Linked DNA regions of Homo sapiens: region 2 is linked to region 1. Evidence: promoter capture Hi-C in 16 types of primary human blood cells and fetal thymus (Javierre and others, 2016). All regions are on one chromosome and are shown on one strand. Each heading gives the region's core, a stretch centred on a gene start or on the middle of the fragment in contact. The rest is flanking DNA. Distances are from core to core; before and after follow the strand shown.

What was found. The method cuts DNA at HindIII sites, captures the fragments that hold promoters and counts their contacts. A CHiCAGO score of 5 or more calls a contact.
Region 2: a contact is called between a fragment that was not itself captured here and the fragment with the promoter of EVX2 in region 1, in 3 of 17 cell types (fetal thymus, total B cells and naive B cells). The highest score is 7.4, in fetal thymus.

The regions. Positions count from the first base shown.
Region 1 is chr2:176,082,196-176,085,622 of GRCh38, reverse strand. EVX2 (even-skipped homeobox 2) reads left to right here and starts at 1,661. Exons shown (of 3, transcript NM_001080458.2): 1 at 1,661-2,273; 2 at 3,174-3,427. The coding sequence starts at 1,847. RefSeq lists an enhancer at 2,287-2,902. The HindIII fragment of the contact is 15,744 bases long and covers 1-3,427 here.
Region 2 is chr2:176,648,913-176,652,339 of GRCh38, reverse strand. The region is part of intron 2 of LINC01117 (long intergenic non-protein coding RNA 1117); the gene reads right to left. Among named protein-coding and RNA genes, the nearest start is that of LINC01117, 13 kb to the right of the region's middle. The HindIII fragment of the contact is 3,248 bases long and covers 204-3,427 here.

The DNA.
Region 1 (3,427 bases), core at 412-2,911:
GGGGATGCAGGACCCGCGCCCAGCGCCCAGATTGTCAGGGTCTCTCAGCCGCTTCAGAAGCTCACGGGCGGACCTCCGCGTCCCATCCCCGTCCTCCCTCGCCTCCGCCTGTGTCCGCGAATCTCTCTCCGGCTGGGCCGTTGGCGGGTGGGCACAGTGCTTGGAGGGTCAGGGAAGGGTGGGCGCAACCGCGGGAGATGAGGAGCGGCCTGGAGTGAAGATTGATCTTCGTTAAAATGGTTGCCACCGGCGTCATTATGACTATCAAAGTTGTCGCCAAGAGGCTCAGCCTCCAAGCCCAGGCCGCAGAGAGCTGCTGTAAGGCTGTTCGGCGACTCTCTGCGCCCGGACCCAACGCTGGGAATACCTGTGGCCGCAGGTAAGGGGCTGGGGTTGATGAGGGGAGGAAAGAGAGAAGGAAGAAAAGCAAAGGGGAAGGGAGGGCAGCGGGGAGGTAGGGGAAGAAGGCTGTCTCCTCTTTCCTCTTTTGACCTCGAAATCCAGCGCCTTTGCCGCAAATAATTCTATTTGAGGAGGGAGGGGAAAATCTGGCAACGTGAGCGTGGATTCGGAGCGCCCGTATGGCGCTGTAAATCTCCACTGTGTTTAAAGTTAGCTGTCGAATTCTGCTATCAAATCGTCCAGCCTAGTTCGTTTCCCCTCAGGAAAATGCGTAGGCGAGAAGGCTTTCTATCAGCAGGATTATAAAAGTAAAAAACCGGGGACTTCGAGTTCAGATCTCACTCTGCAGACGGTGTTAGAAAATCAGAGAGGACCTAATGATTTCCGTTTGGAGGCGCGGGCCCAATGCACCTCCGCGGCCACGTAGCAAGAAAGCGCTTTCAAAACTCTAGGATATTTCTATTTCTCTCTCTCTCTCTCTCTCTCTTTCTCTCACTCCGTCTCCCTCTCCCTTTCTCCCTCTCTCCCTCTCTCCCTCTCTTCCGCTCTCTCTCTCTCCCGGGGTGGGAGGAGAGCATTTAGGCTGAGGTGAAGAAATAGGGAGGGAAAGAACTCCGGCGTCCTATTTGTTAAATAAAATACATATTTGGTTCCGAAATCCGAAAGATAAGTAATCCAGATAGGAGAGGCGCAAGGTCTTCTCCTTACGCAACTCTTCCTGCATCCTCCCCCTTATCTCCCCCCACTTATGCCCCCAGCTTGTAAATGGTAAAAAAAAAAAAAAAAAAAAAAAAAAAAACCAAACCTTCCCGAGGACCTACTCTGGAAAGTCAAACCATTATCTATTATTTAATACGTATCTGTGTCCAAGGAAAAATGAAGAAGGCGCTGCATGATTAGGACCTAAGGGGCAACCTAGCAAACTGAGAGCGTAATGATGCCCCTAAATGAAGGGGGAAATGTGCCGCGGCGCGCTCTATTAATCAGACTGTCAATTTCACCCCCGAGGCCAAACCCCCGGGCGAGCAGAACTGGCTCGGAGCGGGCAAAGGACCGGAGCCTTCCTCCTCACTTGTCTCTTCTCGCCTCCTACCTGGATCTATTTGTCTGCTCTGAAGCTGCCTTCATTACCCACTGACAGGAGGGTGTATTTATTTGCTTATAAACCTGTTACAATAAATGATTATTCGAACAGCGTCATTCGTACCTTAATGACGAGCGGGCGCTACTTTTTGATGAATGACATCTCGGGATCGGAAGGATGTATGGGTCATTTTGACCAGTCATTCCCTCGCTCTGGCATCCCACAATTTTTCCGCCTCCCTCCGAAAGCGATAATAATATTTAGAGGCGTTCGCTGGGGCTGAATGAGAATTAGCCCTAGGCGCAGCCTATCATTAGGACGGGACAGCAGGGCCACTGTGACATTTTTAAGAAAGCTGAGATGATGGAAAGAATAAGAAAAGAGATGATTCTGATGGAGAGAGGGCTGCACAGCCCTACGGCGGGCAAGAGATTCTCCAATTTGTCCAACTCGGCTGGCAATGCTGTGCTCGAGGCCCTGGAAAATTCGCAGCACCCGGCTCGCCTAAGCCCGCGCCTGCCGTCTGCCCCCCTGCACAGCGCTCTGGGAGAACTCCCCGCCAAGGGCAAATTCGAAATAGACACTTTGTTCAACCTGCAGCACACGGGCAGCGAAAGCACCGTCTCCTCCGAAATCTCCTCCGCCGCCGAGAGCCGCAAGAAGCCGGGCCATTATTCAGAGGCGGCCGCTGAGGCCGACATGAGCAGCGACGTGGAGGTGGGCTGCTCCGCGCTTCGCTCCCCCGGGGGCCTCGGCGCCGCTCAGCTTAAGGAAAACAATGGCAAAGGTAACCGCGCCGGCCGCACCGCGCTCTCCAGTCCCATCCTCTTTGCTCCTCCGCGGCCCCCGCCAGCCTTTCCCGGTGCCTTTTCCCCTCTCAGACCCTCCACAGGCAAGCTACACCGAGCTAGCACGGGCGGGGGCGGGACGCATGTCTGGGACCGTGCCTTCCAGTTCTGCTCCTTGAGCTTTCCCGCCAGGCTCAGGCCTGCGGAGCCTGGAACACCAGGCCCACCCGCCCTCGCTCCTGAGTCCGAGAAAATGTTTCTGCGCTCGTGTCTAAGAGCCCGAGCGAGCCGGTAGACCCCTAGTCAGCAGCCGAGTTGCTTTTGGGAAAGGTACCCTGGGCAACTACTCTGAACTCCCCTGCCCCTGTGCCCTCAGGGCTGGAGGGGGCATTCTTCTGGGTAAGTCGGAGGAAGCCTCGCCGGCGTCTCTGTTTAGGTCAGCGGGAGAAAGAGTTGAAAAGTATATTTCACCCCCTATTGGCTTGGGTTTGAGCTACTGCTGTGTTGGAACTCTTAAAATATTTGAAACCCCGAAGACTCAGATAAAGGTTAGAGGCCGTATAAAAAGCTGCCCTGCGGTCTCCAGACCATGGGAAACCCAGAGCTTCCCAAACTGCGCCCAGAGGTAGGCATTTTCCCTCGGCCACTTTTCCTCCTTGGTTGAAAATTTCTAATTATTAAAAAAGAAATCTCCTAATTCCGTTTCTATTATTTGCTTATGAAGGGCTCCCCAAACTTTATTGATTCCATTAACGGCAGCAATTTGTAAGCATGACAGACCCCATCAATTCCGGCAGCGACTCTCCTTCCTGACGGGGCTTCCCCGATCCGCGCGCAGCGCCAGCGCCGGGCTGTTGGTCCTACAGCCACTCATGCGCTGTTGGTCGTTTGTTTGCCAGGGTACGCAGAGAGCGGCTCGGCTGCCGGCACCACGACGTCGGCGTCGGGCTCAGGCCTCGGAAGCCTGCATGGAGGCAGCGGAGGCAGCGGCGGGAGCGCGGCGCTGGGTGGCTCCGGCTCTGGCGCGGATCAAGTGCGGCGCTACCGTACGGCGTTCACCCGCGAGCAGATCGCGCGCCTGGAGAAGGAGTTCTACCGGGAGAACTATGTGTCGCGGCCCCGCCGGTGCGAGCTGGCCGCGGCACTCAACCTG
Region 2 (3,427 bases), core at 578-3,077, 570 kb before region 1:
AGATTTAATGGCTTACACATTTTGCTATTTACAACTCCTGCACACCAAACAGCAGAAAATAATATTGTTGCGTGTGCCATAAACAGTGTTGCTGCAGGTCTATTTTATGTAGTACTATCGTTTTTATAATCTCAAATGTTTGGCAACTGCAGTCAAAAAGCAAAAAAAAAAAAAATCTAACCAAATACTATATGCTGTAAGCTTCAGTTGTCTTCAGTCTTAAAAATATATACCTCGTTGAGAAGAAAATATTTTTCTTCAGACAAAAGAGAGTGGTAATTCAGCTGTAATAGACAACAATGTAAAAATCTTCTCTTAGTCAAATTCATCTCTCCTTAATTTGAGATCCAGTTAAGGGTACGTCAAAATCCATTTTAGCTTTGATTCTATTTAGGAGCTAATTAAAACTGAATATTATTAGCACAGGTATATTGTTCAATTATTTTAATATTCTTATTTTAAGAATTTAATCAAAGCTCTTCTCATGAACAAAAAGCAATAATATTTTTAAAATTGGAACCCCAATTTGCATGTGCAAATAACTGTAGAATGAGCTCACTAAACTATCTTGCCAATGACCTCGACCTTGATCTGGAAAGATCGTTTATGCACAAGTAAAACATTCACATTCTCTACGCTAACTCTGTGTTGGACCTTTTCTCAAGGTAGTTTACTTATGGCAACGTTGGAAGGTCTTTTAATAACATATGTATTTACCAACACCATTGAATTATATATTTAAATGGAATATCATTTCTGTCCATTTTTTATTTTAATCAGGATTTGCTCCCTTTGTACTTATATATGCAAAATTTTGGTTAAGCGTCTGCAAAGCAGTGAGTAGAAGAAGATTTGCGTATATGGTTTATTTAGTCAGTCTCCCAGACTGAGAAGCCTGGCTTTTCTATCGGTATACAAACTGGTTCTTCAATCAGAGGCTGAATGCGAAGGAGTCCTTATACAACAAAAAGCTGGAACCACCATTTTGCCATCCGCTCGCATACAATAAAATGGTGGCACAGAAAACAGTTAACACATTGTGCCCACGAGAGTTGTCTGAAAGTATTCAACTCTCTAATCCAGATATCAAGCTGCTTTCTAAAATACTGTTACCAAGTGGCTAGAGGTATTTGCTTATGTATATAATGCACGTGTGTGTGTGTGGTGTGCAGTGTGTGTATGAGATGCCGGAAGAAATGGATGTGTACATTTGACGAAAGGATAGAAAGAACTAGTCAAAAATTAACACTCAAGCTGAGAGTGAAAGCAAACCTATGTAAAAGCACAGGTCCTGGAAATTGCTTCTAACAGTTCGCAAAAGCTGTATAGTGAATTTGGCCTTGATAACTCCTTTCATTTTAGCATTCACTGCAAGCAACTTTGAGCTAGGAAATTTAAGGGAGTTGGTATTCTTTTTCTTTCTTTTTCTTTCCTAACGTCCTGTATAAATTAAAAGCAAGCCCACAATTGACTTTCACCTGGAAACTCCATGGTCTCGCTTAACAGAGGGGAAGGAAAACCAGGGACCAATCTTTCTTTCCTCTTTTACTTCTTCTGCTCTTATTTTTAGTCATTACAAATGCTGCCTTGGCTCTTTTAAAGTGTGAAAATTCTCATTTTTCTGCAGTGCTTCAGACTCACGCACTCCTTGGGGATACAGTGAGGAGCTAACCAACTGCACATGGGAAATGAGACCATTCGTGGTTAGAAAAACTGCAGTCTTTGGTAATTTTCCACATGGAGTAGAAGCCATAAGTGACTTTTTTCTTTTCCACATAATGACTTTACGTGAGTAGTTGGTATAGAATTGTAGGCTCAGGTTTGAACATATGAATGCACTAATGTGTTTTACAAAATTTAATTTGACTTCTATAAACATTTTCAGTATTTTCAAGTGCATAATAAATAGGTTAAAACAGGGCACCCTCCCTCTGCAATCCCCCACTTCCAGACAGAATTATAAAAGGCTACTGTCTGTAAATGAGAAATAGCCCGTAAGACCCACCAGCAGGTTATGCAATATGTGATATAGACCACCAGGGGCTGAACTGAAACCACTAATACTTTTTTTCATAGCATCATTAGCTAGAGTTAAACAAGGTGTCAAAGTGGAAAGATGGGGAGGTTAACCTGGCTCATTATATTTGCATGCCTTCATTTTAATTATTTTTTGTACTAAAATTAAACACTAATATTCAATTTTATTATTTAAATGTGTTACCCACAAACAGTACATTACTTTTTATCTTTTTAAACGATTAATGCATTATTTTGTGATTATTATCTAAACTTGATTTTCAATAAATACTAAAATTCTCTTGACAAAAATGTAATTTAAATTTAAGGCTAAGGAGAGGTTATTAGTAAAAATTTTCCCTGTTGTACTTTATGAGATAAAATTGATTTTCATTTTTTGAAATTTAGATCTTAAATCAAAATCTGCCTCCAACCAAGATGAGTGAGCCCAGGGCTCATGGAGTGAGTTTGCATGCATTCTTGATCTCATGTTGACAGTCATCGGGAAAAAATATGTTCTCTTTATAATAGCTCCTTTACAATTTAGGACATTGCTAGGTTTTTACATGCACTAATATTAGTTGCCCCATGTACCTTAAGTAAAGCCAACCCAATAAATTTAGGATTGTGACTGAGAAATAAATGCCATGTCAGTAAACCTCAACCAGATACCAGAAGAAGGATTATGTGATTGTTTAGTCCAAAAATTAAGTTTCATGTCTTTAATTGGTGTCATATCCTGTCCTAAGTATGTAGTGCTTAAATCAAAGGCAACCACATTAACCTGGAAAGGAAACATAATAACAACTCCTTTCATCCCCTGCCTCAAATGTTTGTATGCTCTACCCTAATTTTTGTTAAAACACTTTCAGGCAAAGACAACAGGAAATAGTAAACATGGCAACACCATGAAAATAGTTTTCGGATGCACTATTTCTCTCCATGTTCAAAGAATCAGTTGTATAGGCTGCAGAAGAAACTGATGCATCATTAAACCTAATGCAGACAAAAACAGCCACACTTCCAGCAAAATGGATAGTTCTGTTCATTTTATAAATCTTGGTTCTAGCCAGACGAAAGCCAGGAATTAACTCGGTCTCTCACATCAATGGCCTGAAACGGTGGTGCATCACGGTAATACATTCAAAGGGAATCAGGAGTATCTAACAACAACTTTAGGAGCAGGAATGCAATTATAACTGACAGCCAGATGTCTGGTCGGGCTGCTACAACTACCCATCAAGACTGCAGATGGTCTTGAGATCTTTGCATCTAAACAGCGAGTCCAAGTGAATGATATACAGATAAACAACAATACCACAAATCATCAACACAAACCAAAAAAGTCGTTGTGACTGATAAAGATTTCAGATGTCAAGAGTTAGCCAGCTCAACTCCTTACTCTCCCCTT